5 separate regions of the Homo sapiens genome follow, and all the other regions are linked to region 2. Evidence: promoter capture Hi-C in 16 types of primary human blood cells and fetal thymus (Javierre and others, 2016). All regions are on one chromosome and are shown on one strand. The core of a region is centred on a gene start or on the middle of the fragment in contact, and the rest is flanking DNA. Distances in the headings are between cores, read along the strand shown.

Region 1 (2,700 bases), core at 201-2,700, 1.1 Mb after region 2:
ATATTACTTAAACAGTACAAAAACCAAAGCATTCCGATTTTAATGAGGAACCTTTCTTCTTTTTGACTCTATCAACCATGTTACTTGAAGAAAAACTCTTTCAAAAAATCTGCTATCACACACATTTTGCTTTCATGTGCTTTTCTCCCTTCATAAATGGAAAGAAATTTGACTTTATTTTTACCTGATCATACATAATAATTTTATCGGCCATTGTATACAACAAGGTGGCCTGTGTAATAAGATCCTTTTTATTGTCCTTATTCTTTTCTTTCCGAGCCTGTTGTACATAATACGCTGCCAATGTATCCAAGCAAGTCATCTGGTCTTTTTCATGGTCTCTATAGTCCAAATTGCCATCTATACGTGCTGCTTCCAACAATTTTACAAACTCTTCTGTTTTTCCTTGCTTGTAGTATTCCAGCTATAAGGTAATGAAACAAATTAGAATCACTAAAGCATATGTCCATATAAAAAGTTGTACACAAATGTTTACAGCAGCTTTATTTGTAATAACAAAAAACTGGAAACAATCAAAATGTTGATTAACAGGTGAATGGATAAACAAGCTGTGGTGTATCCATAAAATGGATACTATCCTACAATGAAAAGGAATGAACTACTGATACATGCTACAACATGGATAAATCTCAAAATAATTATGCTGAATGAAAGAAATCAGACCAAAAAAAGAGTACATATTGTGTGATTCCATTTATATAAAACTCTAGAAAATGTAAAACAATCTCTAGTGTCAAAAAGCAGACCAGTGGTTGTCTGGCACAGGGATTAGGGGTGGGGTGGGGGACTTGTGGGGAGTGGTACAGAGGACACTTTCAGAAGGTGATGAATGTATTCATTAATCTTGATTGTGGTGATGGTTTCACAGGTATATACAGATGATAAAACTTATCAAATGGTAAATGTCAAATATGTGCAGTTTATTATAAATCCATTAGACTTTAATAAAACTGTTTAAAAAACTGGAATCATTCACAATGTTCCCAATCTGCTGCTTATCTAGTTGATTTCTAACTAAAATTTTCAGATAAGTAGAGCCTAAGAGAGAAAACAATAGTGAAAGATATGAAGAATTCTAAATAGAAAACTTGGGTTCTGGTTCTAGATCTACCAAAAATTATCTGTGATTTGGGCCTGTTTAACAACTTCTCTAGGCATCTGTTTGACTTATAAATAATAAAAGAAATATCCACTAGGTGTGGTGGTATGTACCTGTAATCTACTACTTGGGATGCTGTAGTGGCAGGATGGCTTGAGCCCAGGAGTTTGAGTCTAGCCTGGGCAAAATAGAGAGACTCTGTCTCTATGTGGAATATCCACCACTTATTAACCACTGACTATTGGTCACATACCATGAAAGGAATTTCATACACATATTCTCTAATCTGTACAACCACTCTATGAGGTAGATGCTAACATCTCTATATTTTAAATGAGGACATATGCTCAGAAGTTAGATCATTTGTCTAAGGTCACATAGCTAGTTAGCAGCCATGCCGGGACTTGATCTAACCCCAAAGCCTACATTCTTTTCCCTGTAAAAATCTATATCCCACAATGTGTCATTAATTTATTCTACTACAGGTGCCATGCTAATCCTCCAATATTCTAATTTTTGTTTAAGTGCTGTTAAGGAGGGCATATGTACTTAAAAATATATATATATATAATATATATTATATATACATCTAAATTACCATCTGGTTTTAAAAAAAATGTGTGTGACAAGGAGGCTTGGTCTCCATGGAATAAGAAAAGTTGGCACTTCAAGTCAAGAAGGCACTGCTTGTCACTGAAAATACTTCTCTGTAAATCCACATCTAAAAGGAAGAAACTCTTAGAGCAGTCTTGAGCACTGGATATAAGCCCAATTCCAGACCTATTTCTCTGACTCTTCAAGACAATATTAGGAGCCTCTTCTGTATGTTTGTATGAAAGCAATGTGGCATATCTACTTAGGAATAATGACTGTAACATTTATATTACCTATTCCTATAAAAAGAAAACATCATTATGCAGCTGATGCTGGCAAGTAGAGGATATAGAATTTTAGGGTTTCTGATTGGATTTTCTTGAGAATCTCCAGTAAGATTCACATTGAAGGAGACTAAATAGGACAAAAAACATAAGTCTGAGATAAACTTCACCCAAAAGAACTTTTGTGATTTTGGGTGAAGTGATTTTCCCAGAACCTAATCACATTCTAGAATATTTTAAGGGAAGTGTTTTGTTGTTATAGGAAACAATGTTAAGCAGCAATGTTCACACAGAAGCACTTCGCTTCTTTTCAGCTTATCTATAAACCATAAGCCAGCCTTCACTGAACAAGCACTAAATAATAAAATATTCAATATAGAGTACTACTTAAATGAATTTTGCCTTTACCAACATATACTAATTCACCAGTAGAGCAGCATATCATTTAGGAAAACGGCCTTATTGTTCCATAAATTATTAACACAATTAACTTCCATACACATGGTATAACTAATCTACCATGCAGCCAAGCTGGCTATTACTATATCTGAAAACAGAAACTACATATTTTCCTAGTCAACAAATAAAAAATATTTGCTACATGAATACTGACCGCCAAAGCAATCCATATGTGCAGTTGTGTGTGTTCCTGTTTCAGAATACTGATAACTTCATCTCCCTCCGGTAACTGATCGAAGTCAA
Region 2 (2,700 bases), core at 74-2,573:
CATACAGGTACATAACTCCAATAATATCACCCTTGCATACTGTCAGAGCTTGCTTAAGTAACAAAGAATTGCTACAAAACAAGTAAAACAGGCACAAAAAAATTTAAGAATCTGTAATGATCACTCATTAATTTCAAGATCGCACACAGTTAATTTCAATCCAACACTTGTCTCTATTTAAGGTATATGAGAAATAAAAATCCAAAGCATTAGCCTGATGATCAGCCAGTTAAAAATACACATTTGAATACGCCGAAGATATTTATAAAGCCAACAGAGATACTATTAATACGTTGAAATTCGCTGGCCAGTGCTGGATTCTACCCTAAATCTTCTACTACTATTCAAGAGAAGCCAAGTAGTCAAGGCTTCTCGTATCACTTGCTTTTAAGAATTTAAGAAGTCACTCAAATTGGCATACACAACCCAACCTCAAAAAAAAAAAAAAAAAAAAAGAGTTCAGCTCTCCATGTGGTAATGTTCTCCTATCTCCTTCCTTTACATTAATGTCCCATGTACTACTTTTCCACGATCTTCGGTAGGCCCCATTTAGGCAGGCCAATAGTACTACCAAGTAACAGGAGTTGAAAAAAGTCGTAACAGTTAAGTCTGCCCTCCCACAGATCTCACTTGGGTGTAGATTTCACAAGCGCTGAAAGCTATACGCTGCCACTGTCAAACCCAGAAGCAGCACCGTCACCCTGCCGTGCCCATAGGCAACTGTTCCAGAATGTTTTCTTTGAAATGATCTCTCCCGGCTCCACACGTTAAACAAGAACTTAAAAGGCCACCTTCTCCCCTAGAGCAGAACCTGATTCTTTCCCGTCCGCTCCTTTATTCGTCCAGCCCCATAAAACCCGAGGCGGGAGGTCCGCTCCCCGGCCCCTAGAGCCAGCGGGTCTCCCAACTGCTCGCCGCACCCACCGTCCACCCCCGACTGCCTCACGCCTCCTCATTCCCCCACAGCCGAGCCTGCACCCCGGCCGGGCCCGCAGCCGAACCCCGGCCCGGGCCTGTGTTGCCTCGAGCGGCCGCAGGCCTAAGGCCTAACCTCCTCTGGGGCCCCTCACCTCTTTCGGGACCAGTTGGTTCTCCTCGCCGGGCACCATCGCTGACTCCGGCCGCTCCTCTCCGCCCTGCCGGGGGAGGGTGGAGGGTGGCGGCGGCTCGCTAGCTCAAGAGAGAATGGCAGCGGCAGTCATCCTCTCCGCCGCCTGCGCTCCAGCAATAGCGGAGGCCTCAGCCTGGGCCTCAGACACCAGCGCGCAGACACCGACCCAGGGCTCCGCCGCCGCCGCCGCCGCTACCACAGCCGCCTTCGTCGTCGGCCCCTCCCCCAGCCCGCTGCAATCAATGGAAAAATGGCGGCGGCCGCTCTCGCGAGAATTCGGCCCGTCGGGCTCCAAGCCCGGCGCCTGGCGTCGGAGGTGGCCGGCACTTGTCGCTAGCTTCTAGTCACCTCGGCTCTTCCTCAGCCCCGGGAGGTACAGAATTGGCGAGACAGCCATGCAAACGCTTTTCGTTAGAGGAGAGCTGGACGTTCCATCTCGGGACTCCCTCTGCCGGCCGGGGAAGGACCAGGCCCACTGTCCTCCCTGCCTTCTCGGGCTCTTCGGACTCTCTGCCCTGCAGGGAAAGACTCGAGCCGAAAGCCCCATCTCTGACCCTAGCAACTCATACCCTTCTGGCTTCCCTTTAGCAAAGCGCCTGGACGTCATCCCCTCTTCAGATACCCCAGGCCTCGTCCTGGTAGAGACACCACCGCGGGCCACCTCCCGGCCCCCGCCCTTAGACACGGCTCTGGCCCTTCCAGTCAGAATGGACAGCGTTTTATTTGCTCCCGTTCACTCTCCTGACGTTCTTTTCCCCTCTCCCCACCCTCCCTCTCAAGGGCCCCCAGCTGGAGGGACCTCAGGGGCCACCCCCTGCTTGGGGAGGCAGCCACCCCTTCCCTTATGAAGCGGTGTCCTCACCGCCCGCCCCCCGCAACTACATTGGAGAGGCGCTCCCCTGCCCTCTTCCAGGGAACTTCCTTCTCCATCAGGGCCAAGTCTGAGACTGAGCTAGCCTTCCAAGAGTAGAGCTGCAGTATGCTTCAACCTGTGATCTCCGTTAACAAGGTTTTTAGAGAATTTTAATCTTCTCTAGTAGTAAGCATGGTGCTTTGTGTTATACTAAACAAAGTTTGCAGAAGTCATTTCTCCAAATCCTGCTTCCATTATGGAGACTCGGCGGGGCTCCTTCATGAAGACTTTTATGGATACAGTGATCTTACAGCATGCTGAGATAATATAATCTTGTCATGTTCCTAACACCCACAGCATTAACTGCCTGCACTTGTGTTCTCCAAACTTTTTTTTATTGTAATCCCGTTACCAAAAAAAAATCCATATACTTATATAAGTTTTATACGTGTCCTGCTGTGTGCAGAATTATAAAACATTTGTAAAATGTAAAAAGGCTAAGACAAAGATGACATAAACATTTAAAATAACTTAGTTATTTTCCATATTAATGGTATAAAAATCTTTGTTATTCTCACTAAAAATATTTAAGGAAATCAATATGATTGACTAGGTTTCGTTAGTTTTAAAAATCTTTAATACTTCGTGAAATAGTTATTAAAATATCTGATTGAACGTCAGGTTATTTTTGTACTTGGTTTTAATGGCTGTCATAAGCTGAAAAAAAGGTAACTCA
Region 3 (2,700 bases), core at 72-2,571, 1.0 Mb after region 2:
GTGGGTCACTTGAGGTCAGGGGTTGGAGACCAGCCTGGCCTACATGGCAAAACCTTGTCTCTATGAAAAATACAAAAATTAGCCAGGCATGGTGGTGGGTGCCTGTAATCCCAGCTACTACTCTGGAGGCTGAGGTGCAAGAATCACTTGAACCTGGGAGGCGGAGGTTGCAGTGAGCTGAGATCACGCCACTGCACTCTAGCTTGGGTGACAGAGTGAGACTCCATCTCAAAAAAAAAAAAGGGGGGGGACAACAGAGTGTAAAAATGTGGAAAATTTGCAGCTGACCATGTAGTAGACAAGAAAAAACCATTTATGGGGAGGAATTTAAGCCAGCTGCAGAAATTTGCATGAGTAACCAGCAGCCAAACGTTAATAGCCAGGACGATGGGGCAAATGTCTCCAGGGCATGTCAGAGACCTTCATGGCAGCCCCTCCCATCACAGACCTGGAGGCCTAGTAGGAAAAAATGGTTTTGTGGGCCAGGCCCCGCTGCTGCTCTGTTTGTAGCCTTGGGACTTGGCACCCTTCATCCTAGCTGTGGCTGAAAGGGTCCAAGGTACAGCTTGGGTCATGGCTTCAGAGGATGCAAGCCCCAAGTCTTGGCAGCTTCCATGTGGTGTTGGGCCTGCGGGTGCACAGAAAAACAAGAAGTGAGGTTTGGGCACCTCTGCCTAGATTTCAGAGGATACATGGAAATGCCCAGGTGTCCAGGCAGAAGTCTTCTGCAGGGGCAGAGCTCTCACAGAGAACCTCTGCTAGTGCAGTGTGGAAGGGAAATGTGAAGTTGGATTTCTCATGCAGAGTCCCCACTGGGGCACTGCCTAATTGGAGCTATGAGAAGAGGGCCACCATCCTCCAAACAGGTTGCACCATTAGCCTGGAAAAGCCGCAGATACTCAATGCCAGCCATGAAAGCAGCCAGGGCGGGGGCTATACCCTGCAAAGCCACAGGGGCAGGGCTGCCCAAGGCCATGGGAGCCCACCTTTTTCATCAGCATGACCTGGATATGAGACATGGAGTCACAGGAGATCCTTTTGGAGCTTAAAGATTTAATGACTGCCCTGCTGGATTTCAGACTTGCGTGGGGCCTGTATCCCCTTTGTTTTGGCCAATTTCTTCCATTTGGAATGGGAGTATTTATCCAATGCCTATACCCCCATAGTATCTTGGAAGTAATTAACTTGCTTTTGATTTTATAGGCTACTAGACAGAAGTGGCATGCCTTGTCTCAGATGGGACTTTGAACTTGGACTTTTGGTTTAATGCTGGAATGAGTTAAGACTTTGAGGTACTGTTGGGAAGGCATGATTATGTTTTGAAATGAGAGAAAAAGACTTGGGAGGGGCCAGGGGCGGAATGATATGGAGGCTTTGTGTTCCCACCCAAATCTCATCTTGAATTGTAATCCCCATAATCCCCATGTGTCAAGGGAGGGACCTGGTGGGAGGTGAGTGGATCATAGGGGTCGTTCCCCCGATGCTGTTCTTGTGATAGTGAATGAGTTCTCACAAGATCTGATGGTTCTATAAGCATCTGGCATTTCCCCTGCTCACCCTTCTCTCTCTTATTGCCATGTGAAGAAGGTCCTTGTTTTTTCTTCACCTTCCACCATGATTGTAAGTCTCCTGAAGACTCGCCAGCCATGTAGAACTGTGAGTCAATTAACCTCTTTTCTTTATAAATTACTTAGTCTCAGGTAGTATCTTTATAGCAGTGTGAGAATGGATGAATACACGAAGATCCCCCTTCTAGACACCAGAATGTATAATCTTGGTGTAAACTGTTTATCTCATCATAGCTATAGATGAACCCATCTTTGGCTACTGAATCTCCCCTGTATTTCTGAACCTTCCTCTGCCATCAGCCAGGCCAAACAGGGAGGCAGTTTCTAATGCCTAATTTTAGACCTAAGTCTTGTACACTTAGGCCTATCTTAGAATGTCATAATTCACCAATAAGTTCTAAAATAGGACATCTCTAGCAAGACATCATTACTTATTATTTGTGCCCATAGAAACTTCTTCCTCTGCCTTCATTAAGGCTTTAATCATTTATAGTCTCCTAAGAGACCTCTTTTATTTTTTTCTATGTTTATATGTTGTCTCTCCAACAAGGCTATGACCTCTTTTGGGGACAGTTACCCCATCTCCTACATTCTGTAGTCCTGTTGTGCATAACAATATTAATCAATCCATAAAAATAATTTTTAAAACCTGGATTCAGACCAAATCTTTCAAACTTTTCCCACTCTCTGGACAAAGGCCGAGAAAGAAAAAGAATAGAGTCCTTACCTTACTGAAATATTCAACCTATTTGAAGTCAAGTAATTCAAATCTCTTTGGCTTTATGGATTTCAATCTATTCCCACCCATCCAGAGTGTTACTGGTTTTTATCTTAGCTTTTGATTTCTTTCCACTGAGAGCTGCTCCTCTGCTCACCTTTAACTGCTCTTTCCACTCATACTCATGGCACTTTATACTTCCTCTTTCATAACACATCGCATTTGGATTTATTTTTCACTATCTTTCTTCTCCCAAGGACTTTTAGTTACATGTAGGCAGAGACAATTTCTTCCTTCTTCATTACTAGGTATATCCCCAGCATCTTAGCATAATGCCTGGCACATAGTAGGCATTCAGTAAATATTTATTGAATAAATGAATAACTCTGTGCCTGGCCCCAAGTTACACTGTCT
Region 4 (2,700 bases), core at 182-2,681, 1.0 Mb after region 2:
TAAATTATGGTTTAATATTCTAGGTTTCCCCCCCTAGTTGCAAGAATTTTAGTTTTAAGTGAAATAGTGTCCAGAGACAAAAAGTGCATATTCACTTCATTTCTAAAGGATCTAGGGGTGTTTATTCCTGCTCCTATGGCTCAAGGGATGAGAAGTGACTTCTTTCTGGAGGGACCGTTCATGCCACCCAGGATGAAAATGGATAGGGACCCACTTGGAGGACTTGCTGATATGTTTGGACAAATGCCAGGTAATTTTGAAAAAACAATGGTTGCGTTAAGCTGAAAAATCAGTTAACTTTAGTTTTGAGAGTTGTCCGTATATGTATTTTAAGGTAGCGGAATTGGTACTGGTCCAGGAGTTATCCAGGATAGATTTTCACCCACCATGGGACGTCATCGTTCAAATCAACTCTTCAATGGCCATGGGGGACACATCATGCCTCCCACACAATCGCAGTTTGGAGAGATGGGAGGCAAGTTTATGAAAAGCCAGGTAAGTAATATTTGAGTGTGCATGTTTTCTAAACCTTATCTGCAACATTTATTTCAAACTGAAATGTTTATCCTTAAGATTAGTAAAGTATTAGTAAAATCACATCACTTTATTTGATAGGTTAGATTTTTATTCTTCCCTGTTTCATCTTTTACTTTCTCTGGGCAAATTCAGTTAAACTAACTTTATGGCTTGGCTCATCCCTTTGGTACTTGATTACCATAATTTGTGGACCCCTTTTTATCTAGACTTTCTTTCTCCTTTTCTGAAATAGGGGCTAAGCCAGCTCTACCATAACCAGAGTCAGGGACTCTTATCCCAGCTGCAAGGACAGTCGAAGGATATGCCACCTCGGTTTTCTAAGAAAGGACAGCTTAATGCAGATGAGGTACATTTGCCTATGTTACTTATATACCATAGTTTGTCCATTCAGAAATTTATTGCCCGATGATTATAAAAAGACGCGTTATTAAGAGGACTTTATGCTGGAGTTCTTGACGTTTTTCTCTCTTTTCTATACTTCTTTTTCTTTCTTTGAATGTCCAGCGTCCTGTGAGCGAAGATTATGAGATATGAGGGCAAGTCTCCTAAAGTCTGTTAGAGCAAGAAAACTGGTTGTCAAAATATTGTGGTTTCTTTCTTTGTAAGGGTGATTTAACTAAGGATAAAACAGGGCATTTTCTAAACTGTAGTTAAATTTGCAGTTTTTTATTTGAATATTTTAGTCATGCTAATTCTAAGAGAATGTAAGATTTATAATAGTATCTTACTACTGTATGCATCAGATCTTTAAATTTTTTGCCAAAAATTAAACCTGTTAATGTGGAGTACCTTCTTTAGTTTTTCAAAAAGCTTAATGTTTCCCTAGATTCTGTCACTGTATAGGATTTTAGAATGTTGTATTTAATATGTTCGCCAACTGCATGTTGTTAATTTAGATATATTTTGTTTTCAATTCCAGATTAGCCTGAGGCCTGCTCAGTCGTTCCTAATGAATAAAAATCAAGTGCCAAAGCTTCAGCCCCAGATAACTATGATTCCTCCTAGTGCACAACCACCACGCACTCAAACACCACCTCTGGGACAGGTACAGACCATAGTAGGACAGCATTTTCTAAAGATATCTGAAGACTTTTTTCTAAATTTAGTGTGTTCTTCCCCCTAATTTCATAGTCCTCTTTTTAAAAAAAGTCTGTCATTGCTTGTTTTTTAGACACCTCAGCTTGGTCTCAAAACTAATCCACCGCTTATCCAGGAAAAGCCTGCCAAGACCAGCAAAAAGCCACCACCGTCAAAGGAAGAACTCCTTAAACTAACTGTAAGTTTCAAATATCCCATTTTAGTGTAATTAGCCTGTATTTGAGATAGAGAATACATTAAAGATACTTGTGTTCTTCACAGGAAACTGTTGTGACTGAATATCTAAATAGTGGAAATGCAAATGAGGCTGTCAATGGTGTAAGAGAAATGAGGGCTCCTAAACACTTTCTTCCTGAGATGTTAAGCAAAGTAATCATCCTGTCACTAGATAGAAGCGATGAAGATAAAGAAAAAGCAAGTTCTTTGATCAGTTTACTCAAACAGGAAGGGATAGCCACAAGTGACAACTTCATGCAGGTAGGACACTTTACTGATTGTGTGGTAAGAACTCTTACCACTCAAATTCGAAAACTGATAAACTGTTGTATATTTCTTTCAAGGCTTTCCTGAATGTATTGGACCAGTGTCCCAAACTGGAGGTTGACATCCCTTTGGTGAAATCCTATTTAGCACAGTTTGCAGCTCGTGCCATCATTTCAGAGCTGGTGAGCATTTCAGAACTAGCTCAACCACTAGAAAGTGGCACCCATTTTCCTCTCTTCCTACTTTGTCTTCAGCAGTTAGCTAAATTACAAGATCGAGAATGGTTAACAGAACTTTTTCAACAAAGCAAGGTCAATATGCAGAAAATGCTCCCAGGTAAGAGAATGCTGACTTGTTTGTTTTGTTTTTTTAATATTATATCTAGAGATTTCAGGTACCTTGAGTGGATTTATGTAGGTCAGACAGTCTGATTGTCCTGCTCAGATAATGATAAACATTACCACAGATCTCACCTATAAAGAGAGATTTATAATTTAACTACTTTCATTTGATCCGTATGTTGAGTTTTTTTCATTTGCTGGGTTGGTTCTCTATTCTGCTACATGGATCTTACATACTTGG
Region 5 (2,700 bases), core at 201-2,700, 1.1 Mb after region 2:
AGGAATTATATCTTACCCGTCCACCACCACCACCTCTTTTCTTCTCTTTTGTTGCTTCAGTCTCACCAGTAAACATAAGAATATTTTTGGTCTTCTCCACATACTGGGCCCGCTGTTCCAAAAGTTTCTTTTGCTCTTCCTTTTCTCTGAGACGTTTCTCTTCCTATGAGGAAAAATGGTAGAAAAGAAACCCCACTGCAAATTTTCTTATGATGAAAAATTAATGGCTACCATCCTAAGCAGAGGATTTTTTTTTTTCTTTTGAGATGGAGTCTCACTCTGTTGCCTAGACTGGAGTACAGTGGTGCAATCTCGGCTCACTACAACCTTGGCCTCCCAGGTTCAAGTGATTCTCCTGCCTCAGCTCCCCGAGTAGCTGGGATTACAGGTGCATGCCACCACTCCTGGCTAATTTTTGTATTTTTAGTAGAGACGGGGTTCCACCATGTTGGCCAGGCTGGTCTCGAACTCCTGACCTCAAGTGATCCGCCCTCCACCCACCTCATCCTCCCAAAGTGTTGGAATTAGAGGTGTCAGCCACCACGCCTGGCAGAGGACTTTTTTTTTTAAACATACAAAGTGTATGCATGCACACAATTCATTAATTCCAGTATAACTGGAAAATACAAGATACCTGTTCTTTAAGAAGTTTCTGCCTTAACAGCTCCTTTTCTTGCTCTTGCTTGGCCCGCAGCTCCCGCTCTTCTTCATCTTGTTTGCGTGCCCGGGCCACATGGTACTGGGCCTGGCTCAGTAAGTCAGAACACTGCCTAGAACATTTCAGGTTTAGAGAAACATGAATGTAACTACTATATTAAAAAACTCAGCACATCTATTTTCCTTATACAAATTAAAAAATCTGAAGCAGGACCATTAGCTGATCTATGTGAAGTCTTTTTTTAAAAAAATGTTTTTTTTCTTCCTTTTTTGTTTAAGAGACAGAGTTTTGCTCTTGTTGCCTAGGTTAGAGTGTAATGGTGCCATCTCGGCTCACCGCAACCTCCGCCTCCGGGTTTAAGTGATTATCCTGCCTCAGCCTCCCGAGTAGCTGGGATTACAGGTGTGCACCACCATACCTGGCTAATTTTGTATTTTTAGTAGAGACGGAGTTTCTCCATGTTGGTCAGGCTGCTCTTGAACTCCTGACCTCAGCTGATCCGCCCACCTAGGCCTCCAAAAGTGCCAGGATTACAGGTGTGAGCCACTGCGCCCAGCCAAAAAAAATTTTTTTTTTTGCATTACACTTGCCATACCATACCAATGTATGGAGTCTTAATTAGCAAAATTAACTTAGTTTATCATAAGCCAATACTGCCAACTATGTTAAGTTTCCAAACTATAAATGTCCTCTCAAAGCACAGCTAAAAAGATTTCCAACATTATCTTTACATATAACTCAGAGTCATGAATTTTATCTTGACTAGGCTGACATAGCTGACATAAGTAAAATAGAAAAGTATTTTCCCCCAGAACTCAAGTACTTGTACTAAGGCAATTTTGTCCAATTCCCTGAAAGGAAAAAGTCCTGGCAAAGATTAGAGAGTCCCCAAGAGAAGTGTGAAAGACTGACCTGTGGAAGGTCAGGAACCTCTGTTCCCTACTGTGGCACTTTCCCAGCCCATGTAAATATCACTGCCTCACCCAAAGTCACCTTCCATAAATAGTAACATTACCTGGCTTCTGTAGCAGCAAGGGCCAAATCAAATCTCATTTTATCTCCCACTTTACTCAAATAACTGAAGTATCTAAATGAAACGAGAAAATACTTCACTTTTAAAAAAAGAGATTCTAATGAAATAAAGCTCTTAAAAAATTTAATCTGTGCTACAAAGTCTGAGAAAAGGTTTGCATATTGACTGATTTACACAAATTTATGCCACTCATTACATTTAATAGACACGTTCATCAAGATGGTCTAAGTTATATTTAATATTATCAGTAAATTCACAAATAACCACAAAGCAATTCAAGCAACAAGTATTTACTAAACATGAAATTTACTAAATATGTCAGGATGGAGGTTACGGGGCTCAGGCCATGAAAGCACTTATAATTTACCAGGCAAGGCAAGAATTGTTAAACAAGAATAAAAATATTAAGTTGGACAAAACCTGAAGAGATGACAGGTTTTAATTTCACCACACACTGACTCACCATATAAATACTATATGGCTAAATAAATTTTGAGCTGAACTGAATAAAACTATTAAGCATTATTTAAGAAGTAAAACCTTAATCCTAGTTCAATGAAAATCAACATCCCATTAAAAGACACATTGGTGTAAAATGGAAGACCAACGTAAGTGTCCAAAAAATTTCACATGTGTAAAATGCTGGGTCACATTACTGTCAGATTAATAAAAAATCTATGGCAAGTTTGCAAAGCTAGCCAGCCAGTTCTAGAGGTCAAGCTACAAGATCCAAATCTGGCAGGATCCTGACTATAGTTTGGCACCACCTGGTGGCAGCTGCTATCTGCTTTGGCTTAACTATTGCTGGAATGATTCTAATAGACCACCTTTAGAAGGAAGTGATTTTCAGCAGCTTGAGACAAATAGCTTTAAACAAAGCATTTCAGACAAAATCGGGAGAGTTCAAGATGGTATGGTCATAGACCAAATAAAGCATTTCATAGGTTGTTTCTACAAAATCTTTACCTATGTGCAAGCTCCAGTTCTTTCACAGCATTAAGTACTTCCT

What was found. The method cuts DNA at HindIII sites, captures the fragments that hold promoters and counts their contacts. A CHiCAGO score of 5 or more calls a contact.
Region 1: a contact is called between a fragment that was not itself captured here and the fragment with the promoter of USP47 in region 2, in 2 of 17 cell types (naive CD8 T cells and total CD8 T cells). The highest score is 6.1, in naive CD8 T cells.
Region 3: a contact is called between a fragment that was not itself captured here and the fragment with the promoter of USP47 in region 2, in 1 of 17 cell types (naive CD8 T cells). The highest score is 5.0, in naive CD8 T cells.
Region 4: a contact is called between a fragment that was not itself captured here and the fragment with the promoter of USP47 in region 2, in 10 of 17 cell types (non-activated CD4 T cells, naive CD4 T cells, total CD4 T cells and 7 more). The highest score is 13.1, in non-activated CD4 T cells.
Region 5: a contact is called between a fragment that was not itself captured here and the fragment with the promoter of USP47 in region 2, in 5 of 17 cell types (naive CD8 T cells, total CD4 T cells, naive CD4 T cells and 2 more). The highest score is 9.6, in naive CD8 T cells.

Annotation. Positions count from the first base shown.
Region 1 is chr11:10,752,682-10,755,381 of GRCh38, reverse strand. CTR9 (CTR9 component of Paf1/RNA polymerase II complex) reads right to left here. Exons shown (of 25, transcript NM_014633.5): 2 at 2,612-2,700; 3 at 185-424. Among named protein-coding and RNA genes, the nearest start is that of CTR9, 2.8 kb to the right of the region's middle. The HindIII fragment of the contact is 5,641 bases long and covers 1-2,700 here.
Region 2 is chr11:11,840,595-11,843,294 of GRCh38, reverse strand. It overlaps USP47 (ubiquitin specific peptidase 47), which reads right to left and starts at 1,323. Exons shown (of 28, transcript NM_001282659.2): 1 at 1,071-1,323. The coding sequence starts at 1,109. LOC107984311 (a long non-coding RNA gene) reads left to right here and starts at 1,454. Exons shown (of 4, transcript XR_001748134.3): 1 at 1,454-2,120. RefSeq lists enhancers at 1,080-1,219, 518-1,381, 1,430-1,599, 1,382-2,247. The HindIII fragment of the contact is 16,233 bases long and covers 1-2,700 here.
Region 3 is chr11:10,827,148-10,829,847 of GRCh38, reverse strand. No RefSeq gene overlaps it. Among named protein-coding and RNA genes, the nearest start is that of EIF4G2, 20 kb to the right of the region's middle. The HindIII fragment of the contact is 5,436 bases long and covers 1-2,700 here.
Region 4 is chr11:10,799,844-10,802,543 of GRCh38, reverse strand. It overlaps EIF4G2 (eukaryotic translation initiation factor 4 gamma 2), which reads left to right. Exons shown (of 22, transcript NM_001418.4): 12 at 109-250; 13 at 335-495; 14 at 770-883; 15 at 1,457-1,582; 16 at 1,709-1,813; 17 at 1,897-2,112; 18 at 2,196-2,454. SNORD97 (small nucleolar RNA, C/D box 97) reads left to right here and starts at 936; the gene lies at 936-1,077. The HindIII fragment of the contact is 163 bases long and covers 1,350-1,512 here.
Region 5 is chr11:10,770,590-10,773,289 of GRCh38, reverse strand. It overlaps CTR9 (CTR9 component of Paf1/RNA polymerase II complex), which reads right to left. Exons shown (of 25, transcript NM_014633.5): 18 at 2,658-2,700; 19 at 1,674-1,745; 20 at 635-770; 21 at 17-163. Among named protein-coding and RNA genes, the nearest start is that of CTR9, 21 kb to the right of the region's middle. The HindIII fragment of the contact is 4,881 bases long and covers 1-2,700 here.